Regions from separate parts of the Homo sapiens genome. Here regions 1, 2, 3, 4 and 6 are each linked to region 5. Evidence: promoter capture Hi-C in 16 types of primary human blood cells and fetal thymus (Javierre and others, 2016). All regions are on one chromosome and are shown on one strand. The core of a region is centred on a gene start or on the middle of the fragment in contact, and the rest is flanking DNA. Distances in the headings are between cores, read along the strand shown.

Region 1 (4,587 bases), core at 1,059-3,558, 1.7 Mb after region 5:
CTGAAAGGTCTACCCTCCCTTAACGTGGACTTTGGGAAAATTCCCTGACCTCTTCTGGCCTTTGCTTTCTCATCCTGTCAATGGGAGCTTTGCACTTGCTGGTCATGGGGACCCACCCAGGTGCATCATTACCAGCTTCTGGAATGTTGCTCCTCCCACTGCTGGTGCGGGCTCCTGTAGCCACCGTGGAGGGTATAAGCATCAGAAATGGCAGCCCCTTGCTGCCTGTGATCTGTGTCTTTTGCCTTCCTGAGGTGGGAGGGTTCAGAAAGCCCAACCCATCCCCACCCTTCCAGGACATTCTTTCTTGGCCCTGCGCTGGCATGGCTGTCGGGATCGACAGTCCCTCACCCGAGGGCCTTGCATGAATCCAGACACACCTTGGCTCCATTGCCCGAGGCCTGGCAGTGGATCAAAGAGCTCTGGTTGGAACATTTGGCAGCAGGAGGGAGATCAGCAAAATGGTCCTGCACTGGGTGCAGCATAAGCACAGCCTCCCAGGTAGCTGCTGTCTGTGGCCTCTGCAGCTTCTCTCTCTGTCAGAGCCTGGCCTTCTCTGGACCCTTCTCCCGGGACACTAGCACCTCTCCTCCCACGCTTCTGTGTCCACCCTCCCCCCTATATCCCTAGATCCTGGTGATGTAGAATTGTGAATGGATCTCAGTACACCACAGGAGTGTGCAGTGTGACCTGTGCATAGTCCAACTTCTCTGCTTCCTTCCCTGAAGGAAAAATAACAGCCGCAACAGCTCCCGTTGTAACCAGCACCTGGGTGTCAGGCTCTGAGCTGTGTACTTCACGTGCATTGTCTCATCTCATCCTCACCGCAACCCTCTAAAGTAGATTCCATTATTATTCCCATGTTGCAGTCATTTAATAACTATGTGTTAGGCAACCATTTAAGCCCTTTATATCATGTGAGTTTTCATTTGCTCATTTGGTCCTCACAGCATCTCTGTGGGATAAGTACTAGTCTCACTTCCATTTTACAACCAGGAAAACGGAGGTACAAATAAGTGAGTGTGTAATGGATCTGAGATTCAGACCTAGATCATCTGCTTCCAGAGTCAAAGCCCTTAATCACTGTGCATACTGTCTCCAGAATAAACAAAAGCAGATTCAGAGAGGTTAATCAACTTGCCCAAGATCACAAAGTCAAGATATGTTAGAAAGACTAGTAGGACCCAGGTCAGTCTGTCTAGAGCCTATTTATTTTCCCACAGTACTACTTGATGTGTGTGTGTGTGTGTGTGTGTGTGTGTGTGTGTGTGTGTAGTTCATCTCTTTCTTTATATATTTATTTTTTGAGATAGAAGTGACTTTAAAAACACATGTGCCTATCTACGATAATTTCATTAATCATAACTAAATAAAACAAACTGATAGGAACAATTCATGGTTGACTCTACAATATGTGGACTACTATAAGAACTGGAAATTAACTAATGTCCTTGATTGTCCTTAACAGATTTAATGAGGAAGGCTAATTACATGAAAATACTCTTATTTCCAGTTTTAGAAACTCGTCAAAGCAGGGAGGGCTTCCATTCTGATGAATAGATTGAAGCTCAGAAAATGTAAGGACCAAGGACCTGAACTAAGACAAGTCCTCACTGAGTTTCGTCTAACCCAGAGGCTGTGTTCTATAGGTTAGCTGATCCTGCCTATTGCGCGGATCCTGAAATATGAGACAAAGCTTCGAGCTAGGGTACAGAGGTGTCCGGGAGCAGGTAGCCCAGGCAGAAGAAAGAACAAATGATGACAGGTGGTATCACCTCTCAGCTGGCCCCAAATCCCTGTCTGGTAAGGTCTGGAAGCTTTCACAGTGCTGCATTCTTCACTGAGGCTCACAGGGCTTAATGTAATTGCAAAATATCCTAAAAAACAACATTTTATCATTTTCCTCCAGAGCTTCTCGCCTTGTAAATAGCGTGTTGGCACATGTTGAAGCCCAGCCACACAGCTCTGTCTCCGGCTTCTGCAAAGTGGCGTGAGGCCTGCTGTTGGTGTGCAGGGGAGTGCAGGCCAACCACGCCCCAGGAATGGGAAACCTCCTTTCGCTCCCAGGAGAGGCTGTGGCAGAGCCAGAGCTAGACTGTGCCTTTACAAGGCATTTGCTTCTTATGAACCTGCTCCAAAATCACTGATGAGCTCACAGAAGAGAAGCCATAAATCAGCAGGCTGGGGCTGGGTCCTTTGCTCACAGTAGGCAGAGGATGCAGTGTGGACCTCCCTCCAAAGGCCCTTTCACCACCAACTTATCCTGCCTTCCCACCTTCCCGCTGGTCCTGCAGCAGCCCAGCTCCCCAGCTCCTGGAGGCCTGGCGGCTGTCTGCCATTCACACGGTTGAGCTGCCCCAGACCTGCCCGTGTGGGCCCCACCTTGCCACTCCCACTTGTCTGCTCCCAGGACAGCAATTGTGCAAGAAGCCCCACACGTGAGCGGGCATCAGGGCGACAGCCAAAGAGCCTCTCTGTGGTGATGCTGGGGCGGAGAGGCTACCTGGCAGCCACTGGAGCGCAGTGACATGGGCATGAAACCTGAGCACCTAGCTCATCAGATGACAGAAAGCCTCGGGTGAGAAGAGACCTCCGTGGGATGCAGTGATGCCACATTAGAGGCCTGCTAGGTACCCAGAAGAGTCACTTTATGTGGATATAGACCCTGAGCACGACTGCACCCACTTGGTCAGCTGTCCAGGCCATGGTCCCTCTGAGGCAAGTCTCAACTTTTCTCCACGTGCCAAAAGAAAACCGTATCTGACAGCTGAAGAAATGGAAAGTGGTGTAGCTTTGACTGAAGCTTTCCTGGGGAAACGGAAGAGGGGGTTACATCAAACCCCACAGGGTTTCTGGAAGTCTCTTGTAAACATCCTTGACCCCACTCCTCCTACAGCTGCTGCTTCCTCCCTTTGGTGTACCCCAACCACCTCGTCTGCAGTCTCTCCTTTCACCTGGTTCTGTGTCCCTCTCAGCTGCCCCTCAAAAACCCTTCAACTTCCACATCTCACTCTGCAAAGCGAGAGTGGTGACGCTTGGCAACATAGAAGTCTAGTTAGCAAACTACAGATCAAAAGCAAGTCTGGGAAGCCTTATGCCACCCATTAATATAACCTTTGTTTTTTAACTTGTTAATTTAAAAAGTATTTTATGTTTTACTCAAACAAAAAGTGATAGACCCCCATATACTGGCCAATCTGATCTGACCGATGTTAACATTTTCCCCTGTCTTTTCTGTGGATGTACCATTCTTTTTTTTTTTTTTTCTTTTTTTTTTTTTGACACGGAGTCTCACTGTGTCACTCAGGCTGGAGTGCAGTGGCGCGATCTCGGCTCACTGCAAGCTCCGCCTCCTGGGTTCACGCCATTCTCCTGCCTCAGCCTCCCGAGTAGCTGGATATCCCATTCTTTCTCTCTCTCCCTGATCCTCTTCTCTTTCTCTCTCTAAAATATATTATATAGAAGGTAAAGCCCCAAAGACCATTTCTATTTTATTTTCTCCACGTCTAGAAACATCCCTTTCCATGTTTGGTGTCGTTTGGTCTGAATCCAGGATGGCACCGTGTTTATGAGCACAGACTTGGAAGCCAGCCTGGCTCTCAGCTCCAACTCTGTAACAACTAGCTGAGTAACCTGGAAGAAGTTGCTTAACTTTGCTCTGTCTCAGTCAAATAAAAAAGGGGATAGTAAATCAACTGTATGTGCAATCATCAAATGTTGATACATTTAAAGTGTCTGGAGCAGAGCCTGGAAAAAAATAAATGCTTAATATTTATTAACTGTTATTATGATCCATGAAAAATAAATAGAATGGCTATTTGGTGTGTTTTTAAGTTTCATCTAAATTATTTCATGGCATTACACCTACACACCTACACACCTACACACACACACACACACACACACACACACACTTTGCGACTTGCTCTTCTCACGCATTTACATTATGTTCAGGTCTCTCTATTTGGATGCATGTAATGCATTCATTTTTCTTGCCATAGAGTGGAATATTATTGTTGTTTTAATTTACATTTCCCTGATTACTTATTCTAAAATTTACTTGGAAAAGTAAAGAGCCCAAGCAATTTTAAAGAGGAGAAAGAAAGAAAGGAGACTTGCTCTATTATAATGATACTAAGACTTATACATTTAAGCAGTGCTGTCCAACAGAGCTTTCTACAATCATGGAGATGGTCTCTAGCTATGCTACTCTAATATGGTAGCCTTGGGTCACATGTGGCTACTGAGCACTTGAAATATAGCTAGACTGACTGAGGAAGTTAATTTTTACTTTAATTGAACTTAAATAGCTACATGTCATTGTGACCCATGTGGTGACCCATCACCAGACAGCACAGGTTTAGAGTATCAAAACATTGTGATGAAGTCGCAGAGACCAGCAGTAGACCACAGAAACAGCAGCGAGTCTAGAGACAGACCTCAGTGTTTGGTGTTAAGTCCTAGAAGGCATTGTAAGACAACAAGGAAAATGGTGGGAATATTTTTATCCAATGTTTGGGTTTTCTATTCTTTGAATTTCATTTGTCATTGAACTACTCCCTCTTCCTCCTCCCATTGTTTAGTGTG
Region 2 (4,729 bases), core at 1,089-3,588, 1.7 Mb after region 5:
AAATGATCTCAAAAAATTCCAAGATTGGTGTGTAAACTACTATCACCCCTGTGGGGTTATTATGTTGACTTGTTTTAATTTTATAAAACTCCTCAGAGATGGGGAAGGAAATCATCCTTCACCTTCTATTGCTGAAAAGCATGCTGCAGGAAAAAAATGATGATTCTTGCCAAAGATGCTAGGGACAAAATTTCTCCTTGGAAACCCTGAGAAGCAGAAGTCCTTTCTCTTTCTGGGCAATCTCAAGGTAGCGTGAGTTGTAAATACAAACTGGTTTTAACTGTCCTCCTGAGTGGCCTTGCAACCCATGACCAGAACTGGTCAAAGATTTTTATTTCACCCAACCACAGGGAGGAACATGAAGGCACGGTCACTAGGTGTTTAATCAGCAGGTGAATTCAAGCCTTTAATTCTTTGTATACTGCAGTCAATAGAAAGTTATTGCTTAATTAACCCCTTTGATGAATACCTGATAATTAATAAACCCATAAAGTATACCCTAAGGCTTTAAGTTGAAGAAGGCTCCCCTCTTCAAGTGGAAAAGAGAAGAAGAAGAAAAAAAAAACATGCTGAACTAATGGGAAAAAATTCCAGTAGAAGGCAAAGCAATTAGGATTAGTGAATTCCATTTCATTTAAAGGTGCAAGATAGAGGAGCCATTTATCTAACAAATTAATAATGGGAGTGACTTGCCTAATATAGTAACAAGTCCTTATATTTTATTAGTGGAAATCCAAACCAAGTAATTTAATGATAGACAAGTTTCCATATATGTAATTTTTTAAGGCTTTTTAAAAAAATTGTCACCATACTCAGATAGTTTTAGATTTATGCATTGCCTCTAAATTAGTCCCCACTTCAGTTTGGAATGATACTTTTAATATTATGGCTTTGTAGAAAAATCAATATTTTTTTAGTGTTTTCTTTCATTTTAAAGAGCTTCGTCATCTGGCTAATTGTGTCACCATAAAAAAAAAATAGAAGAGTTGAGGAGGTGGTTCATATTTCGCAAGTATCATTAAATTTGCCGTGTGTTACAAATGGGGTCTACTGGGGGCTGTTGAATGCTGGAGCTGTGGGGCAGAGCAGAAGGGAAGGTATTAATGTAGGGCTGCTAAAGAAATCTCTCGTTCTAAATTGAGAGAAAATATGAAATATATCCTGAAAAGTGTTTGCAGTAGCAATAGCATGACAGAGATCCACTGTGGTCTTGAGTTCTCATGGAGCCTCTGGGGTTTGCTTGATACCCAAGGCAGGTGAGGAGGCCCTGAGACTTCTACCCCTCTGATCTTCTTCCCAGATAAGGAGGAATTTATTAATCATCCAGCAGATATTTACTGTGCCTCTGCTGTATGTCAGATATTTGATGCTAGTCCTTGCCTTACCTGCAAACCAATGGGGGAGCAACTACAATAGCCTCACATGGCCTCTGCTCTCAAAGTTTGCCTCTGCATTAAATTCCTAGAGAAGAATATGCTTCAGTATGGGGAAGGGCAAGAGCACTAGTCGAGGGACATATAGTTCAAAAAAATCAAAGATTTTGGAGAAAAGCACAATGGCACCCAAGTTCTATCGGCCATGACCTTGCACAGGGCTGAGCCTCAGCTTCTGTAACCTGCAAAACAGGTATTTTCCACATAGACTAGTTATTGTGCTGTACATTAAATATGTGGTATATGGTGAACGCTTTGAAGTCCTGGAGAATAAAATGAGACTGCAGTGAAAATGTATTTTGAAACTCAAAAAAATACAGTATCAATTTAAGATACTAATAATTTTAGCAAATGGTGGGACAAATATATTGCTTGGAAGGCAGTTGAGATATATTTATTTATTTGCTAGCTACTCTATTTTGATGCCTCTTTCTTTTAATTTTGCCCAATGACTAATAGCCTTTTTGAATTGCTTCTTTTCCACTTTCACTTTCTTTACATATGTAAAATCTTAGAGGGATCCCAAAGTGTTTAAATACCACCAGCACCAACAGTAATAATAACAGCTCAGCAGCACTAAGACTAAATACCATATCAGGCACCCTGTATAGATCTTTCTAAAATAGTTCTGACAACCCTAAAAGAGCAATATTATTTAGCCCATTTTAGAGATAAAGAAACTAAGGCTCCGTCTTTCTGATATAATCTATTACAAAGACTTTTATTAGCAATAGCGAATATTTGTAGAGTATTTATGACTATATGACAGGCGGTTGACATTTTCATCCTGTTTATTTCTCATTTAATCATTCAACAAATATTTACTGAATGCTGGGTATTCATAGTGGCCCAATCAGTATAGACTGGTCAACAGGAGAGAACTCATAAGCCCAGTCAGGAGATAGTATAGAACAACACTATGAGGTAGGTGCTTTTGTTATCTCTAGTTTATGTCCAAGAAAAGTGAAGATATGATTCGAATCCAGATACTTCACTTTTAACCATGACACCATATTGCCTCTGAGAAAAGTGCTTGGGATCAAGAGAATTGAGACACTGGGGATAGTATGGTTGAGATGAACCATCCTCCTCTGAGTCTATAAGAGAATTGGGCCTAGATAGTCAGTGTGACTACAGAGCATTCCTTGCCTTCTCAGGAGGGGGACCAAGGCTCTAAGGCAGCAGCCCTAGTTCCTCCATTTGCCACTAATTACCATGTAATCTTGGTAAGCCCCTCAGTTTTGCTGTGCTTCCCTCATCAGCCAAATGGGGATAGCCACGCCTGACTTAGAAGAAGTCCTGGAGAATAAAATGAGATTGTAGTGAAAATGTGTTTTCAAAGTCAAAAAACACAGTATTGATCTAAGATACTAGTAATTATAGCAAATGATGGGAGAAATATATTGCTTGGAAGGCAGCTGAGATGCATTTATTTATTTGCTGTTACTCTGTTTTGATGCATCTCTTTTTGGATTTTGCCCATGACTATTGATGACACATATATAAAAGAAAAATGCTCATTGAAATGGAAAATGGAGACTTTAAACATGAAAGTTCAAGATAGATCAGATTGATTTTTTTCATTTTTTTTTTTTTTTTTTTTTTTTGCCTATTTCTGTTAGCAATAACTGGTCTTGTACTGCTAAGTATCTAGTTGAAAATACCTTAGCAGACACATTCTGCCTCTACCTAATAAATGAGACTGCCTATATAGACTGTCTGATAGTTGTACAAAGGAATCAAATGCATATATCTTACCATACACAGGTACTCAAAGATCAATTGTATTCAATAATATAATGGATGTGTTTTTCATCTTTAAAATTCCTGCAAGAGTAGTTATTCTTCACAGATTGAATTAGCAAAGTAGGAACAGATGAAGTCAATTGTCAATTGTTCAAATGCAGGTACATATTATATAGACAGATCGAAACCTTGGGGGCTGCTAATGTGAGAAGATAAATCCCTCCTCATAAAACGAGTATTAGTAGCAATCTGCACCAATGCCTTTAATTTCTCATATCCTTGTAAATCTTCAGAGCTCGAATGAGGTGCTTACTTCCTATTACTTTATTCAGATCAGAAGGTTTAGAATAACCCTAAAAATATCTTTTTATTTTTTCAAACCTGCTTCATTTCATCCTCAAAAACACTGTAGCATCAACATTAAACAGAGCTAGTTAACAGGGGTTTTAAGAAAATTAAAGGTGTGGCCAAGTCTAGACATCCCAAAATAAGTGGATGGGGGATACAGGCTTTTGGTCCAGTTATTTCGGCCACCTTCTTAATGGACAATTTGGATCACTGCACAGTCAATCCGCTTAATTGCATCTGTGTTGGCCATTAAAACAAATTGAATGCGCTATGGCCAATTTGGTCATGTCATAAAGAAATGGCCAGTAGGGCCCACGGAGATGCAGAATTTCAGCCATTATTCGATTATATCTGATCAGTGGAGACAGCTTGTATAGGGAATCCAGGAGCTAAAGTAGATCACACAGGAGCCCCCAGCCTACTTTGCCGACCATGTTATTAGGATCCACTGTCGACAGCAACAAAATTGGCCAGGTGGTTGACAAAGCATCACTTTACTTTGTCCTGAGGAGAGAAAAGTCAGTGCCCCATGACTTTGCCTAAAATATCCCGTCAGCAAACCAACAGGTCGTCTTTTCCACTTTGAGTCCTGAGTAATTTGAGAAGTAGAGAAAAAAAATCTGAAATGTCCACTGTCGATGACCTCTAGTGTTGGTGTAAAAATAGACCTTAAGCTGCATCCTTTGTGATTAATGCTGGGTAAAGGTAATTTAAGAGGGGCCTAAGTTTCTTATTTTTTCAGATCTCGACTCCATGTACTTTACCTTTCCCTGCACCTCTGCTTGTCTGAGAGGTCTCAAGATCATCATTTGGGACCTCCATTTCTGCTGGGTCTGTCATCTTAGATCGCCTTGATCTTGAGCATCTTTGTGAAGTTGAACAGGGGAATGGCCTTATTATGGGTATTTCTGGATTATACTCTATATATTTAAGCCATAACATAAGGAATAACTGTGGGCCATATTTACTAAACATTTGATATATGTTAGGTGCTATCTGGCATTTTAAGTATATTGTCTTATCTAATCCTCATCTGACCCTGTGAGGTAGGTTCTGGTGTGTTTACTGCGTGGATGAGGGAGCTGACACTTAAAATTGTAATTACTTGTCAAGGTCAAGGTCATTCAACAGGATCAGAATCAAGACATAACCCCTGGTCCCTCTGGGTCCAAAGCTTGTAGTCTCAAATACCGTATCATCCT
Region 3 (4,746 bases), core at 1,490-3,989, 1.2 Mb after region 5:
TGTAACCTCAAACTACTGGGTTCAAGCGATCCTCCTGCCTCAGCCTCCCAAAATGCTCCTTAGGCAGACGCCAGTAATTGAATCTAGGACACGTGCAGTTCGGTGTAACCTCATCTTAACCTGATTACATCTGCAAAGACCGCATTTCCAAAGGAATTCGCATACAGGGGTACCAGGAGCTAGGACCTCAGTATGACTTTTGGGGGGTGCCCATTCCACCCACAAAAGTTTCTAATCATGTTTGACATTTATGGAGCTATGACTTTGTTACAGGACTGTAGCAGGCACTTTGCAATGCCTGGGTCAACCCATATGGAATTGCTGCATCTGTAGGCTATAAATTGTTGAATATCACCAATTTCATATGCTAAACTTCATATTATCTCATTTACCTCTCTAAGATTAGTACTATTATTACTATTATTATCTCATTTAACTCTCTGAGATTAGTACTATTAGTACTATTGTATCTGCTAACAGAGGAGAAAAAGAGCCACCTACATTTGTCAGGGAGATGAAGTAGTGGATGGCTTTAGGAATTGTACAGACACTAGTCAAACTATCCCTTCCTCTCTATGTGACCAGGAGGGAGTTACCTAATCCCCCTGAGCTTCTATGTGTCTGTTTATAAAATTTGAGACAACTTTTCTGTAATAACGCCTGTGTGTATAAATACGACAATTGCCCAAGCCAATAATTTGGAAGTGAGGAGAAGCATCTCACAAGGTGTCTGGTCTTTAGGAGGCATTATATCTGTGCCTCCTAAAGTGTGATCTGGGGAACACTACACTTGGGAATTGGCTGGGAGTTGACTGGGGGTGGGGCACATCTGTTAAGAATGCAGGTTCCTAGGATCTGCCCAGCGCTACTAATTTGACATCTCTCTAAGGGAAGGCCTGGAAAAGTGCATTTTAATTGGTGCCCCTGGGGTAATGCCTGCGATTGCAAACATTATAAAACTGTACTAAGTGAATACAAGTTTGCTTCTTTCCTTTCAACAGGACACAGCTGTCTAATTAGGACTAGATTGAGTCGTCCAGGTACCTGCCCCCTGCAAGTTCAGAGACAGTCTCGGGAAATGGGAGACCAGCTGACAGCCATCCTTTGCCCAAAAAGGGCAGGTTAGATGGCAACCGTTCAAGGGGAAAGTGAATCTTTAGCAAAATCTTTAGTTGCATGTTCCTGACTTTTCCATTACTTGGATGAAAATAAATACCATGCTTAAAAACTACAGGTTTAAAAATCAATGCCATCTTTCTTCTGGAAGCGAAATCCCTGTGACTTGCCAGGACAGAGAGGAAAAAGAAACAAACAAGGTCTCTTCCCAAGATTTTTGTTTTCCCTCCTGCAAATCCTCCGGCTTGCTTTTCCATCAACTTGTTCTCTCACCTAAGAACCATTTTCTCTCTTGTGTACAGAACGAAGAGGCCCTTGACTTTCAAAGTGAGCTTTTGGAAGGAAGATGCCTGCTTGAAGTATTGCTTTTTCCGTGTCTGTGTCTGAAAGCGCAAGAGCTGTTTCTAGCCTCCTTGAGTGCCGGGTTTGGGGTTTCGTGGGTAGAAGGCACTAGCAGTTTCAGAAACCAAGCCTTGCTCTCGGTGTGATTTGCGTAGTCAGGAAGCCTGTCGAGCTACCCAAACAGGGACCCGCCCTGACAGGGGGACAGGAGATGGCTCCCTGCCTTCCTGCCTGCTGGCCCCCAAGTGTCTGCCCCTTCTGCTGACACTGGATCTTCGGGGCAAAGGCACAGCCTACTGAACACGTCTATTAATGTGAAAGTAGGTGGTGTACCAGGTTCCTGGGGAATGGGGCCATGGAAAAGTTGTAGGCTGGAGGAGGAGGAATTCAGAATTTGGAAACTTGCTATACCCCTCAAATATATGTATACAGGATACAGCATGCTTCCTATTTTCTGGGGGAATATGCTAAAGATTCTGAATATATTTTATCATTCAATTCTCACCTCCAGCTGCTCCGGAGGTAGCCCTGTCATCAACATTTTATAGACAGGAACCAGTGGCTTCAGGAATCAGATGACTTCTCTAAGGTCACGCACATAGGAAATGGTAGAATGCTGCTTCTTCCCTCTCCACCCCCTCATTCTCACCCCGATCCATGCATGTGGGGTCCTAGTCAGCTCTCCATTGTTTCTGGCTGGGTCACTGTGACCTCCTTGAGCTTCACTGTCCTCTTTTGGAAAGTGGGAATGACAGCAATACCAGCCTAGGGTGAAGAGAAAATGGGGCTGAAAGTTACAAGGAGGTTTCACTTCTATTAAGGGACACGTAAAGGTTAGTGGCTCTGAGTTTCATTCTGTTCCATGAACGCACACTCCATGGACTTGCTTTCTGAGTAGCTGTGGGGAATGGGACCTGGGGAAGAGGCTGAAGCGGGGAGCACAGGCCAGGACAGAACAGAGATGCCCACTGCAGGTGGATCCTGGGCTGCAGGATGACGAAGCTGGAGAGAGGGACATTCAAGCACTGACCCCTCACCCCTGCAAGTGGCTCAGATCTGACTGTACTAAAGTGTGAACCCCCAGAGGGCAAGGACCGTGGCCAGTTCCTCTCCTAATGGCATATGTTGCCTCGCGCAGGGGTTCTCTTACACTTTGACCTCCAAGCCTGGGATTCATTCGAGCAGAGCTGCTGCTGCTTCTTTTTTTTTCTTTTATATATTTTTTTAACAACCTGCTTATTGTTTTTAAAATAACTCTCCCAGAGCTTTGGCAGAGCACTAGATGATTTGGGGAAAGTCCAGCCTATTCTTCATAAAAAGGCAATCTAAATTACACTGATTTGGAAAATGTTATAAATACGGGGCTTGCCCGGGACACAGTTTGTGGGCAATGGAAGTGTTCTCGATGCTTTGATGTGAAGCATGGTTTCTGCTGCCCCTGTCACAGGCTCCAAAGCAGAGTGATTCTTCTGATGATGATGTGAGGCCACAGCAGGTAAGGAAACAGGAAGACCATCAGCTCGATAAGCTGCCCTATTAACCAGAAGTGATTTTCAGCTCTCTTTAAGAAGGGAAAAAATTACATTTAGGAAAATCCAGAAAAGGTTAAGCCAGTTGCACGTGTTGGTTAACCGGGCTTGCAGCAGAAGTCACTCTATAATTGGGACTTTTTTGATAAATCCAGTTTTGTGTAAATGCCGGGAGAAGAGAGGTCTGGGGCAGACTCACCTCAACATTTGTGGGGACTGGATCAAGAGTCCAGCTGCAGTCTAAGTTTTGAAAAGGGCAAATCCAACTAAGAAACTATTAAAACATAACCTCTATCCTCCTATTTTGGCAAATACATGTTCGCAACTATTTGAAGGCCAGGTTCAAATTTAAAAGTTTTAGAACCCCTGGGATTCTGCAACAAAACCTGTATGCACAGGCCAGCTTGGGGGGCCACCACCTAAACTCATTCTTCCACCATGAGGGATCACTTGCATATGTGTCTTTTGAGTTTCCTAGGGCTGCTTGAAGCAAGGACCAAGAACTGGAAGGCTTAAAATAGATATTTCTTCTCTCTGGGGTGCTGCAGTGCTATTCACACTCCAGGGCCCCTGTGGGCTCAGGGTGATGCTAGACTTCAGCTGAACCCACATCTCCATCCACTGTCTTGTCCAGCCCCTGCATTACTAGCTCCTATCCTGGCTTCCCTGTCACTACACTGCTCACCAGGAATCACTCTCTCCCATTGTACTCCTCAGGAACTGCACCTAAGACAGCGTGGGAACATTTTAAAGGACTCTGATGCGGATTCCTTATTGAGTATGAATTGACTCTGAAGATTTAGTTTCCCTCTTCCTTGATCCATTGTCAAAGCAGTCTAGTGATTGCCACCCCCGACCCTGAGAAAGGAGTGTCTCCCAGATCAGAATGGGAGGGGAAGAAGCAAAGATAAAGGCAGGTGAAAAAGCAGCAAGAGACAGGGAGAAAAAGAGACAGAAGGAAAAAGAGCAGAGAGGAAGAGGAAGAAGAGACGAAGACAAATAGAGGATGAATGATTATCCAGAGGCTACCAGAGGGAAGAAGTAGAAGATAGGAGGTTGGACGGAAGATGTGCACATACCTTTTCTTGTTTTTGCACATACATTTAACCAATAGTTTCAATATGAAAAAAAAAAAAAGGACATGGAGGGTAATGAGCAAAGGGTATTAGGTAAATGCTCCAGCTAATCCCAAAGTCTAGGGGGATGATCGTGAAAGATGAAAGAAAGCCTCTAAAAAGAGTTAGAAAATACAATCTATGGTTTAATAAAAGAAGTCAGAGGTCATAACAAATAAAAAAGAGAGCCATAGGGTACTTAATACCAAATATTTAAGGTGAGCCTTGCTTTAAGCAAGTGAGCTGTATTCCTGAAAAAAGGTTTGTAATTCAGTTGTTTGTATATGAAATCCCATCTCAAGCACCTTGAGAAAGCTCACTCTTTGAAGACTTTTTTTTTTTTTTTTTTTTTGAGAGGGAGTCTTGCTCTGTCGCCAGGCTGGAGTGCAGTGGCGCCATCTCGGCTCACTGCAACCTCCGCCTCCCAGGTTCAAGCGATTCTCCTTCTTCAGCCTCCTCAGTAGCTGGGACTACAGGTGCACCACCACGCCTAGCTAATTTTTGTCTTTTTAGTAGAGACGGGGTTTGACCATGTTGGCCAGGATGGTCTCCATCTCTTGACCTTGTGATCTGCCTGCCTCAGCCTCCTAAAGTGCTCATCGGAAAATCCATTACAATCCTTTACGCCTACAGCACACACTCTC
Region 4 (4,865 bases), core at 1,231-3,730, 1.7 Mb after region 5:
CTATTCCTTGGGAAAACTGAATCCTGAAAACTATATTTCCCCCATTCCTTTAGGAACTGGCTCCTGATTGGCTTTAGCCAATGGGAACCACTGGTTGCAGTGGGAATGTGAGAGAAAGAGAGTAGTCAGGATATTTTTCCTTTTCTTGTTATGCTCTGATCAGCATCTCCAGCAAATGCTTGTCTCTCCTCCAGAATTCCAGCTCCACCCAGAAAGCCTCTATCATCCAAGCTGCTGCCACACAGCTCTGGCTTTTGAGTTTTGAGGAAGACACATCCTTTTGTCTCTCCAGCCCTAGGAGAATCTAGCTGCTGCAAATCTGTGGGTTGCTTCCTCATACCCTTTAATGTCTTTGTACCTTATGATATGGTTTCCCATATTGAATGTTTGCCATTGAGCTCCTAGGCTTTGATTCTTCTTCTGGCTGGAACATAACTAATCTAGAATATCTAGAACATTCCAAACAGCAATACACATGTAGGAGTGAAATGTCAGTGTGCTGTTATCTAACTGGCTGGTGCCTTTTCAGTTTGTTTCCTGCTGGCCTGAAAAACATTCTGAAAATTGCATGGACCCATACGTATTGTTCCACTCAAGCTTTCTGGGTGTAAGTTTTCTGATAATATTGTCGGCATATGTATGAGTGATCCTTGATATAAACAAAAAATAAATCAACTGAGGGATATACAGTCTGAAGGTTGGAGGTAGCTGAGAAAAAGCTTTCCAGATGACTCTGAACTTAGGTGGGGAGAAGCTTGTTGAAACCAAAAAGAGATGGCAAATCTCAGTAGAGTAATTGGCTTCTCTCTCAGATCACCCCCACGGGCTTTATCTAGCTGGGGTATTTTTTTCTTCCTGTATAAAACAGGCTGTTTTGCTCCCAAGTCACATGGAAGCTTGGTAAGATGCTTGGATTTCACGTTCCCTTGTTCACCAGACTTGTTATATTTGAGAGAGAATTTGGTCTTGTCCTTGAGGACCTTGCTATAGAAGACATGAGGCCTGGCTTTTCTGGAACTTCCAGACAAGTTGCACAAAGGCAGTAATGACTCCCAGGTTGAAAGGATAGGAGGCTGCAGGTCTCAGTGCTGGGTGCCCAGGACACACACAGACACACAGTCTACTGTGCTCAAAGAAACAGTAAGGTGAAATCAATCAAGGCTTCATGGTGAAGACTTGAGTTTGTCAGATGCTAGCAGGAGTGAGACAGACTCAAACTTGGCCAAGAAAATTAGCAATGGGCGTACCTCATAAAACATTTAAGTTCAGGCTCATCTCAATTAAGCCTCCCAGAGCCTCAGGTGTTTGTCCAAAGCTTACCTGGGCCTGAACTCCTGGAACCAAGTAAGTTTGCTGGGGCCGGCAAGAACATGCTTCCCCATGAGAAACTTGGCAATAAGAACCCCCTCTCCTCATTCTCATACCCAGTCTAAAAAGAACCATGTGAAAACTATGAAAAGCAGGTTTCAAACATTTCTAAGCTATGAAAAATTTGGATTTAATTTTAACCAGCTATATCCAAGTCTGATGTAAAAACTCAAAAGTTATCTCTCTGTCCCAGGTGAAGCTGTTACTTCTACAATATGGAATCATAATCTCTCCTTTAGACAAACAATCAGTGATGGGCATTGCCTAAAATGTTGTCCTCTCTTTCCTGAACTCTGGGCTGAAAACTGGATTGGTGTAAGCTAGATTTGGGGGTCACATCCGGTCAAATGAAGTTAGTTTCCTCTTACTTCCTATAGTCATTAAAAGTCTTTATCTAATATTTTAATAACAATGATAATGACAATAATTATTGACATTAATGGAACCCTTACTCTATGCTGGGCATCACGCTAAGCATTTTACAAGTGATTATCTCGTTTCATCCTACACTTTGGGTGGGTACTGTGATTATCTACCTACATGGTAGAGACAAGAGAAACAGGTTCTGGGAAGCTACATTACTTGTCTGAATTCTCTCAGTTATTAAATGGCAGGAATTAAACTTGGGTCTGTGGTTCCAGAGCTCATGCTTCTAAGCACTTCGCTGGGTGAATCTCTGTTGAGATACTTTTCATGAGAAGGAACAAAGCTATCTAAATAAATTATTCTGTTAATAAGATAATGGGCATGAAAATGCTGCGAGAACTGCAAAGTCTCATAAAGGTTAAGAATTAATTATTACAAGGAAATTCTATAGCGTGGGAGGAACACCAGAAAAGGGAAAGCAGAAAGAATATTGATCATGAAATTAAAAGACCCGTATCTCAGAAGCATATCAGTGTAATGATTATGAATTTATAAAACTTAAGTATTCAAGGCCTGCAAGGAAGAAATATGGTGAAACAGAGAAAAACATTAATTTGTGGGGAGCTATGAAAATGAAGATAAATCTTTTCTTTCTTTGATTCTGATTTCAGTGAGATCATTTGTACAAATCTTGAAACCAAAGCACAGCCTGTATGAACCCATGTTGAACCCTGGACTTTCAGGACTACTGTATGGCTAACCACAGCCCTGCAAGGCCAGGCTCAGCATGTCACAGTTTTGCCACTGAACAAGAATCTTTCGAAGGATCGCAAATACTACATGGAAAATGACTGTATTCTTTCTGCAAGGCCACTCTCTTAGACATCACCCTAACAAAAACAATTACGGGTTGGAAGAGGAGAAAGGATGCAAAGTTTGTGCCTTGACCTAAAAAAGGTCATGAGCACCTCTACCGGTTCTTGGAAACATTAGTTGCAGTGGATCTCAAATTCTATTGCGCAAAAGAACGACCTGGTGACCCTCTAAAAGTGTAGATTCTCTGGTTTCACCCCTAGACCTTGTGACTCACATGTCCAGTGAGGCCAGGAACTCCTCACTGTTAACCTGTGCCCTATTTTAACAAGCCCTGCTGGGAGTCGGGATGTTGGGGGTCCCCACACCACACTGAAATAGAGGAATTCCCTGCTCAAAGATCCCGTTATGTCCTGATTACAATCTGCAATGAGATTATGAAATCATTAAATCATGATTAAGCCAATGTGGAGATTGATATGTGTTGTATGAAGCTATTACTGATTGGGTTTGTTCTTAGAAAACTAGACTTTCAGAACAGTGGCCAGGGTGAATTTGGGGCAGGACCCTATACCCAGCCCTGTGCGAGAACTTTTATCTATAGTCTCATTTCATACTTAAAATAACTTAGGGAGATTAGTGTTACTTTGCAGGTGAGGGAACTAAGGATTAGGACAGCAGTTAAAATACCTTCAGTGAGGTCACATGGCTAAGAAGTACTGAAATCAGGATTCTAAATCAACATATATATTTGACCCTTTTCAGTATACCATGCAACATCTAAACTCCTGCCTTCAAGCAAAACGTGTCACGGGTCGATTGTGATTGGAGCAACAGTCATTCAGGGGAGAACTTGGACATTGTGGATGAATTGACTAAATTCTCATTGCCTCAGTCAGCCCTTGGTACCTACTGGTCTTACGTTGGGAATTTATATCCTAAGGACTTAGTCTTTTTCCTAGTGGAATCGCAGGGTTCAGAGCTTCTACTCTGGGGTCATCGATCCTATCTTTCTACTGCTGGGGTAGCCTCTTACTCTACTTCCCCATTTGGGACTGAAACTAATGGCTGTCATTAAGCAGCCCCCATGACAAAGGATAAGCTTAATATATCCTGTATCCTGGTCTCGATTTGTCATAGTTATAAAAATGGGGAAAGCTTAGCCTTCCTGCAATTACAATTATTCTTCTAAAATATTTTAAGAATATTTAATTTTTATGATGACAAAAAGAGCAAAGAGTGAAATATAGCAAATAAACCACTAAGTACATAGTATGTCAAGTGGTGAACATTGGTGTGGAGAGGAATAAGCAGGGCAAGAAAGATAAGGAGCGGAGAAAAACTAATGTGTATTTAATATATATATTAGTTATGCACACATACTTATCAATCTATATTAATATGTAGATACTTTAGAAAACATTGAACACCGTTTAAAAATATTACCCCTAGTTCTGCTACATACAGATAAACACTGTTAACAGTTTGGCCTATTTCCTTTTGGGTTTTTTTTTCCCTATATTAAATTGGGATTATATCCAATTCGCTTTCATAAGGTAAGCTGCATTTTTTACTTAGCATGTCATAATCATTATTCCATGTCATTAACATTGCTTTGAAAACATAATTTTATATTTAAAGGTTTGCTAAGTACCATTGTAGGAAGGCACTGAAATTGATTAAGTAATTTCCTCTGTTGTGGGACATTTAGATTATTTGTCATTTTTTCACCCACATAAATATCCCACGGATGTACTTTCTTACGTATAAATCTTTATGTGTATATCTAAACATTTTCTTGGAATAAATCTGTGTTTTTGAGTCTGTTCCCCCAGGCTCTTGATGTATGTTGCCAAATTACCCCCCAGAAACAGGGTGAAAACTCCACAATTCAGTGATCTTGCCACTCCAGGGCTAGTAGATGCTTTTACAAGCTCTCTAAAGAGTTCTGTTCTGTGCTTTCATTGAACTGATCCAATCTGGTCTAGTTCTCCCAGGTCCACGAATACTTACGTGCCACTTTCCAGTGTGATGCTCTGAAATGACCCTTCCCATCCACACCCTGGAGTGGAATATCTCTTCCCACAGGGGTGCCTTTCTCAGATTCTGGAGGGGCAACCTTAGTCCCTTCCCCTACGTTTTGCTTGAGTGAGTCATAATCTATTCCTGGCCTCTCAGGCCCCCGCTCCAGGATGCTGTAATCACAGCACTAACCTGTGTTCACATTTCCCATTATTGAGCAGAAATCCCCCTGTGCCTCCACACAGCCTGGCTGCTTCCTAATGGCCCCAGCTCCCAACTTCTAATAGCCCCATCCT
Region 5 (4,967 bases), core at 1-2,500:
TTTTATTTTCCTTCCTTCCTTCCTTCCTTCCTTCCTTCCTTCCTTCCTTCCTTCCTTCCTTCCTTCCTCCCTCCCTCCCTCCCTCCCTCCCTTTCTTTCCAGATTCTGGACCTATTCCAGACTTACTAAAGGAAATTCTCTAAAGGTGAGGCAGTTTTTTAAAGACAGCAGCTCTCTCTGTCGTCCATGCTGGAGTGCAGTGGCCCGATCATAGCTCACTGCAGCCTCGACTTCTTGGGCTCAAGTGATCCTCCCCCTTCAGCCTCAATGAGTAGCTGGGACTACCGATGTGCACTACCACGCCCGGCAAACTAAAAAAATAATTATTTTTGGTAAAGACAGGGGTCTTGCGATGTTGCCCAGGCTGTTCTCAAACTCCTGGCCTCAAGTGATCCTCCTGCCTCAGCCTCCTAATGTGTTTGGATTACAGGCATGAGCCACTGAGCCCGGCCTAGCTACCCTGTCTGAGTTGTGCCCACTACACAAAGGTGTCAGCTACATGTGATGTCTGTGCATTTCTGGCCTGGACCGCACATTAAGTGCTCCGTAAACATCAGTCTCTATTATCAACAGTCTCTATTATCAATCAGTCTCTATTATCATCAGTCTCTATTATCATGAGTCTCTATTAAACAACAGTCTCTATTATCACAGTCTCTATTATGTGTTTTGGCTGAAAGAAAGTTCTCTAAAACCAGGAAATCAGGAATCAGCAGTTTTAAGTTCTCCAGGTTATATTTTAACATTGTGTTCATATGCAAAACAAAGGTTGTGAATCAGCACGAATGCTGGCAAGCCCTGGAAGGTTTGTGATCACGGACTTTCACGAGACCCCAAGGCAAGGAGAGACAGAAGCCCAGGACAACAGCATGGGCGCCGCTTTTTAGTCGGGCGCCGCTTTTTGGTCAGGCGCCACCTGGACTACATTTCCCATATCCAATTGCCGGGCTCCTGCAGGATTGGCCAGAACAACGCGGAAGTGATTACGGGTCGCCCAGCAACGGGCGGAGTCCTGGCCCGAAACTGGATGCGCACGCCCCTTCCCTGCGGCGGGGAGGCTGACAAGGCTCCGCTCTATCTCTAGCGCCTCGGAGCGCTCTCCGGCTTTGCTGTCTAGCCCGGCGGCAGCGCGATCTCTTAGGCACTTTCACCGCCTTCCTCTCCAGGCCCTGCCCCTTTGACGCCGGCCGTCGCGATATTGCGGAGACTGGATTTCAGCTTCGTGGTCGGCGGAGCGGCCCCTGGAGGGCGCAGTGCGCAGGCGTGAGCGGTCGGGCCCCGACGCGCGCGGGTCTCGTTTGGAGCGGGAGTGAGTTCCTGAGCGAGTGGACCCGGCAGCGGGCGATAGGGGGGCCAGGTGCCTCCACAGTCAGCCATGGCAGCGCTGCGCTACGCGGGGCTGGACGACACGGACAGTGAGGACGAGCTGCCTCCGGGCTGGGAGGAGAGAACCACCAAGGACGGCTGGGTTTACTACGCCAAGTAAGGGGGCCGCAGTGGGGCCGCGGACGCACCTGGGACCCTGCACAGCCCACGGACGCCACCTGCGCGGGGAGGACGCGCACTCCAGCGCAGCGCGTGCGGTGCAAAGTGAAAGTAACTGTTAAGGAGCTTCAGGGAAAAGGGTCCAGGGTTCCCAGTAGGGGCCGGCCCCCTTGGTGGGCCTCGGGTCCAGCGGGGGTCACCTGGTGGCTTCCCGGCGCGCCCTCTGCTGTTCAGGATGCAGCACTGCGCGGCGCGGCGAGGGCAAAGCGGCCTCATCCCCGCCAAAAAATAAAGATGTTTTAAAAAGCGCACATGCTCAGCTCCCTCCTGCAGGCTCTGGGTTGCAGGGATAGGAGTTTTGTTGTGTTTTGTTTTGTTTTGTCCAGACCGGTATTGCTCAGTCATCCAGGCTGGAGTGCAGGGGTGCCATCATAGCCCACTGTAGCCTCTACCTACTGGGTTCAGACAATCCTCTCATCTCAGCCTCTTGAGTGGCTGGGACTACAAGCGTGCACTACTATGCCCGACTAATTTTTTAAGTATTTGTAGAGACTAGGGTCGCACCATGTTGCCCAGGCTGGTCTCGAACTACTGGGCTCAAGCAGGCCACCTGCCTCAGCCTCCAGAATTGAGATTACAGGCGTGAGCCACTGCGCCTAGCCAGGAGTATTTTTTAGTAGCAGTCCTAGATAGCTTCACTATCATTTCCTGGGAAAGTTTTGGAAACCCCAGCAGAGCCTTCATCTTTAACTGTGTGACCTTGGGCCATTGAAATAACGTTTAATCTTGGTTTTTTCACCTGTAAAATGGGTTGATACGAGGGTCAGTTCAGGCACTGTGCGTAAAGCACATAGCACCGTGTCTAGTAGGTACTCTCTGTTCCTTAACTGTCGTTCCTTGATTGCTCTTAAGATACGACAGTGCCTCTTATATCGGCACCTTAGAATCACCTAGGAAATGTCCTAAATACACGTTTTGGGTCTCCATAGAGAACCTACTGTAGCCGACTCTCAACTTTGGGAGTCTCTTTTTTTAAGCTTTCCAGGTGAGGTGGAATATCACCTGGTTTTGAGAAACATGGATGTAAATCTGATTTTCAGCATCTGGGAAACTTTTTTTGTAAGAGCCTTTTTCTGGGCCCCACTTCCAGAGGGTTTTTCTTTTTTTTTTTTCTTTTGAGACGGAGTCTTGCTCTGTCGCCCAGGCTGGAGTGCAGCGGCGCGATCTCGGCTCACTGCAGCCTCCGCCTCCCGGGTTCACGCCATTCTCCTGCCTCAGCCTCCCGAGTAGCTGGGACTACAGGCGCCCGCCACCACGCCCGGCTAAGTTTTTGTGTTTTTAGTAGAGACGGGGTTTCACCGTGTTAGCCAGGATGGTCTCGATCTCCTGACCTCGTGATCCTCCCGCCTCGGCCTCTCAAAGTGCTGGGATTACAGGCGTGAGCTACCGCTCCCGGCCTTTTTTTTTTTTTTTTTAAAGACAGGGTCTCGCTCCGTCGCCCAAACTGGAGTGCCGTGGTGCGATCTCGGTTCACTGCAACCTCTGCATGCCGAGTTCAAGCGATTCTCGTGTCTCAGCCTCCCGAATAGCTGGGATTACAGGCGCCCGCCACCAGGCCTGGCTAATTTCGCGCTGTTGGCCCGGCTGGTCTCCAACTCCTGGCCTCAAGTGATCCGCCCACCTCGGCCCCCCAAAGTGTTGGCATTACAGACAGGAGCCACTGCGTCAGCCCAGAATTTCTGATTTAATTGGTTTGGCCCCTCCCCTCTCCCTTGGTAGGTTGTAAAATCTTCCCTCCCAGGTGATTCTAATCTATGCAAGGATGTGAACCACTGCTGCCTTTGGTGGCAAGGTAGAGGAAAAACAACCAAGTTCTGATGAGTTCATTCAAGACACACACAGGTATTATGTGACAGGCCTTTGGCTGGCACTGGTTATACCGAGGCAAATAAGAGCCAGTTGTCATCCTTAGGACCCAATCTTATTAGGGCACAGTGACATGTGTAGGAGCGTCCCCACGCAGTGTGTATACCAGGAAGTAGTGTGTCTGGCATGAGGTGTGTGTAGGTAGTTGGGGGGGTCGTGAGGGAATATGGTGGCACCCTCACAGTAACCTTCACTTCCTGGGCTCAAGCGATCCTCCCGCATCAGCCTGTTGAGTACCCGGGACCACAGGTGTGTGCCTCCACACCCAGCTAATTATTACATGTTTTGTAGAAATGGGGTCTCACCATGTTGCCCAGGCTGGTTTGAACTCCTGAACTCAAGCCAGCCTCCCTCCCGAAGCACTGGAATCACAGGCCTGAGGCACTGTGCCAAGCCCAGAGCGGTGTTTTGAGCTCAAGTAGAGGTGGGTGGGGCAGGAGGGCAGTCTAGGTAGAGGGAACAGTGAGAGGAGAGACCCCCTGCATGGCCTGTCCAGGGGCCTGTGATCTTTGTGAGGGTCCAGGAATGTGAAGGTTAAGGCAGGGAAGGGAGGACCCATTTCAAGGATTTCTGTGCCTTGCCGAGAAGCTTGGGCTCTGTTGGCAGAGCCAGAGAGTGGCATTCATTCAGCTTGTGAATTCTGGAAGAATTTCTGGCTCTGGAGAATTAAAGGGACATTTCCAGCAGCAGAGCTCCAGTAGCCTTTGCAGGGACGGAGGCAAGCTCCTGAGCGGGCACTTGCTGTTCCTCTCACCTGTACATCTGTTGGGGAAAGGCTCCTTCTCATCCTTCAGAGCTGAGCTTACATGTCACTGCCCAAGAGACCTTCTTAACTGTGGGTGTCCCCTCGACCTTGTACTAGTCACCTTGTTTCTCTGCTTCTTCGTGCTTAGCCTTGGCTGTGTACTCCTCCTTGTTGGCCCTGTCTCCCTTGCCCAGGTTGCAGATGTCATGGGGCAGCTTGTTCATCTGAGTGTCCCCAGTGCTTGGCACCCAGAAGCCATAAGATGAGCCCCTGTGGGATGAGTAAATGAATCACCTTGGGAGGGTCAGCCGCAGGCTTCTGTGGGTGGGTGGGTGGTGCACTGGGCCCCAGAGTACAAAGATGCACATGACCCGCTTCCGGCTTCCTAAGCCCACCTCTGCCTCTGGCTCTGTGGGGCGTCTCCTCCTTTGCCACTCAGCCCCAGAGGTGCTTCTGCTTCCCTGCAGGCTTGCCCTGGAGCCTGGCGCTAGGGCCCTGGGGCTCCCTTGCTCCTGCGTGCCCCCTGCGCCTGCCTTCCTGCTGCCTGGCCTTTCTCCCATCTGCTTTCTTCCTGAGTGGCCCCTGGCCAGGGGACTCGGGTGCATACATGGTTTCCAAACGCCTTTCCTCCAGCCCTCCCGACTAGTGTCTTAAATCTCAAGCTGGCCTCTCTGGCTCCGCTGTTTTTTTTTTTTTTTTTTTTTTAATTTAATTTAACTTTAAATTCCGGGATACATGTGCAGGATGTGCAGGTTTGTTACATAAGTAAACCTGTGCCATGGTGACTTGCTGCACTTGTCAACCCATCACC
Region 6 (5,053 bases), core at 1,716-4,215, 1.8 Mb after region 5:
ATTTCACACCTAAGAGGTAGGCGTTGGAATCTTTTGGTGGGTCATTATCTGTTAAATTGACAAAGCTATTAATCAGTTAAGTAACAAGTTGTTGAGGGAGAAACTTGGTAATTCAGTTCCTGTGTTTCCATGTAATTGTTGGTGTTCCTCCTGTCACTGTTGCTGTTTTGCCTAGAGAGCTGCTGGACAGGAGACCAACAGATTCCTGGCTACCTGTCAGGCAGCCATCAAATAGTAATGATTTCCCGTCACTGCCAAGCATGTTCTAGATTTGAACCAATGACCTGAGAAGAAAGTCTCCACAGCCTATTACCAAATTAGCCCCTGAGTCTTTTGTTTTCCCAACAAACACCCTTTCCAATAAAATTTCATTTTTGCCGTTAGACTGGTCAACTTGCCTACAAATCCCTGAAGCGTGAAATTAATTGAACTACAGAGTTGGGCAAACAAGCTCAGAAGTGAGCTATTCAGAAATAGAAGCCAGTATTTCAGACATTGGTCCATTTGGAAAAAATGGCCTTGGTTTCCCTCTTGCATCTTGGGAGTGGGATTAGGGGTGGATGGGCGGGAGGTACACAGAAGTGGTTATGCAGTTTACTATTCCAAACTCTCATTTTCTTATGGCTTCAAGTTGATGAACACAGCATGCTAGGGGCTGAGACTCCTAGAGATTAAAAGCTGAATCACCCTGGAGAATCTTTCTTCCTATGACCAGGTTACCCGGGAGTTTCAGCTTGATTGCATTAGGAAAAGAGTTTCATAGCATTTCAAACCTTTTTTTTTTGAACTTTTATCTTTCAGCTATGAACCCACTACGAGTAGCAGAAGCTTCCTGTGGTAGGAAACAGCTTATCTCTTAAATTCTATCCCAGCAACATCTGCATAGTTCAAACCTTATTGGAGAGCCAACGTATTTCTCTTAAATTTTGATAATCTTTGTTGTGAACCAGCACAGGAAAAAAGCTAGATATTATATAAAGCTAAATGGAGCACATTCGCTTAACTTGAAGGAAGGAAGGTGCCATAGAGAGTCAGGGGACTGTGTTTACATACAGAGTCCGTAATAGGGTATCTGAGCCTCTTTGACTGGCCCTAAATTTCCAGTGTCAATTTCCCGAGGCCTTATATACACACAGAAGGTACAAACGTGTTCATCTATGACTAAAAGTATCTGCATTTTATTACAGAATACAGTTCAGCCTTCTAGGAAGGTTAAACAAGCAGGTGAGAAGTGAGGTTTGGAAAACGGTCAAGACAGCTGCAAGTCAACAAAGATACCAACTTGAAGTGTCAAAAGTTAAAAAGAACCCTTTATGGATATTCAATTCATCTATTAAAGAAATGTATATGCACAACCTGCTATGTGGAGAGGATGTATCCTATGCTCAAAGGCCTAGGGTCATATTCTGGCTTTCTTTTCCAACTGTGTAATCCTAGGCCTGTTACTGAAGCTTTCCGAATCTCCCACCACCCCCATCTGTTAAATGTGAATGATAATGCCCTCGATAGGAGATGATTGTGTAGGTTAAATGAGATATGTAATGGACCTACTATGGTAACTATCACATGGCAGTCACTCAATAAATGGCTATTGCTGCATTACTAGTGTAGAGATCATTACTCTAGTAATGATATTATCATTCAAGTTAAGCAAATTGATAATAGTTCTTATCCCTCAAAAACTTAGCCATGACACAGCCTTCTGGGTTATAGGAAATTCTTCATCTAGCCAGTGAAGCTAAGGGCATTTAACTGCAAGCGTTCCTCATTCTCCACTCAAGAGTCTTATCTGACCACTTCAGGGAATGTCAGCCGTGCCAGTGTCTTAACACCCTGGGACCATCCATGATAGGTGGGAGTTGGTGGATAAATACCTTCCAGCTTCTTTGCTCCCTGGGTCAGTAACTCTGAAGTGTGTTCAACTCAGTGTCACAGAGATCCCATTATGACTAAGCCACAATTCCTCACATAAAAATCCTACACTTCCATGCATGCACCCTAGTATAGCTTCCATGCTTCCTTCCGCATTAAACTTGCCCATCTCCCTTCCAGTGCCTCTGAGAACACATCCCAAAGAAGCCATTTGCACTCGAATCCTTGTCTCTAGGTCTACTCCTGCGTGAATCTGACCGAAGACACTTGTGCTAAGTATAGATCTCATCCTGGAACTATCAGCCTAGAGTTACCATGTGAGAATCAACTGGATCTCAAATCAGCACGGGCAGTTCAGTATGTTACTTTGTGACTTCAGGGCTGTATTCACATTTGAAAGTGGTTTGTTTTCTCTGCTTAATGCATTGAATATATATGGCTTGCTTTTTCCTGGTCACAGAGGCTTCTCCTTGGTCTCAGTTTAGCTACTCTGGAAGATGTGTGATTATTTCTTGGAGCCCACACCCTTAGCACCCAAATATCTATTTGACGTGTACACCACATCCTATAGTTTAAGTAAAACCATCTCAGAATCTTACCTTCCAAACTCAGTGAAAACCTATCCAGCCAATTCACATAGTATAGTAGCAGATAATGTTACTAATAGAAATATAAAGCATCCATTTGAAGCTCTTTTCTTTATTCACGGAGCATGTAGGGGATACAAACAATTTTCCAAATGTTTTTCCCTTGCATAAACCCTATGAAGAAGAAACAAAATAATGACCCAGAAAAACTGAACAAAGGTAATCAGTTTCATAATTTAAGATATGTTAGTTTAATGGTGCACAAATTAGAACTATTTGACGCATCAAGACTGACAGTTTCTCTAATGTCATTGCTAAAGAAATGCATTTTCAATGACCTCACAGTTTTTGTATTAAAATAATTATTGCTCTTTGCATGTATAATTGTGATCTGGGCAATTAGAACGTAATCCCTCCCTTGGCCTCTTTCTTCTGGGCTAGGTAACACAACAAAGCAGTAGTCACAGTTAAAGAAATGCACAGCAACAGCAAATTGACATGGCACCTCGATTTTAGTCAACATTAGGGAATGAAAAATGCGTCTTGAATTAGTATCGTAAGACCTTGCTTTATGCAGTAACCGTCATGGTGTGACCTGAACTAAGTAATGTAACCTCTGCTACCTCTGCTCTCAACTTCAACAGGGAGGAAGACTGACTTCACAGAACCGTCATGAGTTTCAATGAGACAAAATAGGAATAGCAACTATGTCAACTATGTACACACTAGATACAAGTCAGTTAATGTTTTTATTATCTCAGCTGATATTTATAATTGCTCTTTGAGCTAAGAAAGGCAGATTTATGCTTACTCTTCACAGATGAGAAACTGAGAATTAGAAAGGTTAATTTATTTTGACTAGTAAATGTCAGAGATCAGACTTGAACCCTGGACCCTTCAGTTCGAGATGAATCTTCTCTCTTCTACAACAGTGCTCTTGGAGCTTTTCTGAGCGCTAGAATGCTGCACGAGCTTGTTAAAAAAAGCAGATTTCCACTGCTCCTTCCCCAACTCTCACTCCAAAGATTCTGACTCTGTGGTTCTGAGATTCGTTTTAGGAATCTGCATTTTCAATAAACACTTCAGAGAATTCTAATGCAGAAAATCCATGCGTAGAACACATTTTTAGAACACTTAGCTGTTATGACACATTGTCTATCAGGATTATGTTAAATGGTGGCAAGCCTTTAGAATTAAAGAAACTTTCTATTGACTGGTATCAGGAAACTTGATAATTTTTATTACTGATAATAATGATAGTACTATTACTTGAGTTCTTATTAGGTGCCAGCCCCTGTGTTAAGTGTTTGATGTGCATTATTTAAGTGGATCCTTATGACGTCCAGGTGGCCCCTGGAATTGTACAACCCCACAAGGTACTATTACCCTCCCTATTTGATATTGAAGCATCAGATCTCAAAGAGGTTAAATCAATTTCCAGTGACTTCCTAATAAACAGCAAACAAAGGAATTGAACCCCAATTTTCTAAACTTCATACCCATATAATTAGTCATTCTCTTCTGTAGGGAACAAATAAATGAGGGAGGGGAAATAATTCTGTGTGAATTGAGTGTCTCACGCTGACAAAGTCACACCGTAGTTGAACAAATTCAGAGAGCTATGGCTTAACCCTACATGCATTATTTAACCTGGTTTATTCCAATAGTGACCCTTTCATTGTCAGAGGTTCAGCTCTGTGGTATCAGATCCCAGGAATAGAATGGGGTATTAGTTTTCAATTGCTCATTAACAAACTACTCCAAATACGGCCGTTTAAAACAACAAACATGTATTATCTCACACAGTTTCTGAGGGTAAGGAATTCAGTTTAGCTGGATGTTGCTAGCTCAGGACCTCTCAAGAGATCCACTCAAGCTGTTGGCTGGAGCTGCGGTCATCTGAAGGCTTGAGGAGGGCTGGCGTATCTGTTTCCAAGATAGGGAGAAACCCTATACATGTAATCTATCTTGAAGATCTCTCTAACTTGAAGATCAGGAAGGAGATCTGAGAACTTTCATGGAAGCTTTAGCTCTTGAATTGACACGAGGTTGGAGACAGCAGAGCGCTTTTCTCAGGTATAGAGAGGACAATGCTCAGGGCTTACCATACTTCATAGAGGTAGAAATAAGAGATAGGAGCTGAACTGCCTTGGTAGTAGAATGCTTGTAGCTGATAGTTACCAAGGGAGGGATAGTCAGTCAATGTAGGACTGAATCTAGGTTCACCATTCACAAGGTTTATGAACTTGGAAGTATCTCTTAACATCTGGAAGATTCAATTTCCTCTTCTGTAACATGGGGACAGTCCTGGCACCTACTTACCTCAAAACTGTAGTTTGAGGATTTCTTTGAGCTACAGCATGTAAAGTTTTGAGGTTAATGCCTGGGGCATAGTAAGTGCTAAGCTAACATAATGGATAATATAGCCTTCGTGCCTCTATTTCCAACCCTTAAGGGGACATTAAGTCCTTGGTTAAAGACCAAGGACTTTATCTTTTTATTTAAGAATCTTGGATTGGTTCAAAGTTTAAAAACAAAGGAAAACACACAAACAGCAGTATTATTTTTAAAATATTGTTAAATAAGGACAATAG

Evidence for each region. The method cuts DNA at HindIII sites, captures the fragments that hold promoters and counts their contacts. A CHiCAGO score of 5 or more calls a contact.
Region 1: a fragment that was not itself captured here is called in contact with the fragment with the promoter of WWOX in region 5 in 1 of 17 cell types (fetal thymus); the score reaches 8.8 in fetal thymus.
Region 2: a contact is called between a fragment that was not itself captured here and the fragment with the promoter of WWOX in region 5, in 3 of 17 cell types (fetal thymus, activated CD4 T cells and naive B cells). The highest score is 6.6, in fetal thymus.
Region 3: a fragment that was not itself captured here is called in contact with the fragment with the promoter of WWOX in region 5 in 1 of 17 cell types (naive CD4 T cells); the score reaches 7.7 in naive CD4 T cells.
Region 4: a fragment that was not itself captured here is called in contact with the fragment with the promoter of WWOX in region 5 in 6 of 17 cell types (fetal thymus, monocytes, non-activated CD4 T cells and 3 more); the score reaches 10.1 in fetal thymus.
Region 6: a contact is called between a fragment that was not itself captured here and the fragment with the promoter of WWOX in region 5, in 1 of 17 cell types (fetal thymus). The highest score is 5.1, in fetal thymus.

Annotation. Positions count from the first base shown.
Region 1 is chr16:79,846,927-79,851,513 of GRCh38, forward strand. No RefSeq gene overlaps it. Among named protein-coding and RNA genes, the nearest start is that of LINC01228, 22 kb to the left of the region's middle. The HindIII fragment of the contact is 986 bases long and covers 1,816-2,801 here.
Region 2 is chr16:79,779,383-79,784,111 of GRCh38, forward strand. All of the region lies in intron 1 of LINC01229 (long intergenic non-protein coding RNA 1229), which reads left to right. Among named protein-coding and RNA genes, the nearest start is that of MAFTRR, 11 kb to the left of the region's middle. The HindIII fragment of the contact is 4,722 bases long and covers 1-4,699 here.
Region 3 is chr16:79,277,114-79,281,859 of GRCh38, forward strand. It overlaps a transcript of MAF not described here. Among named protein-coding and RNA genes, the nearest start is that of MAF, 320 kb to the right of the region's middle. The HindIII fragment of the contact is 6,240 bases long and covers 1-4,746 here.
Region 4 is chr16:79,759,921-79,764,785 of GRCh38, forward strand. All of the region lies in intron 2 of MAFTRR (MAF transcriptional regulator RNA), which reads right to left. Among named protein-coding and RNA genes, the nearest start is that of LINC01229, 8.1 kb to the right of the region's middle. The HindIII fragment of the contact is 2,334 bases long and covers 1,314-3,647 here.
Region 5 is chr16:78,098,404-78,103,370 of GRCh38, forward strand. WWOX (WW domain containing oxidoreductase) reads left to right here and starts at 1,251. Exons shown (of 9, transcript NM_016373.4): 1 at 1,251-1,482. The coding sequence starts at 1,376. RefSeq lists an enhancer at 1,485-1,984. The HindIII fragment of the contact is 3,217 bases long and covers 1-2,520 here.
Region 6 is chr16:79,863,124-79,868,176 of GRCh38, forward strand. No RefSeq gene overlaps it. Among named protein-coding and RNA genes, the nearest start is that of LINC01228, 38 kb to the left of the region's middle. The HindIII fragment of the contact is 3,032 bases long and covers 1,450-4,481 here.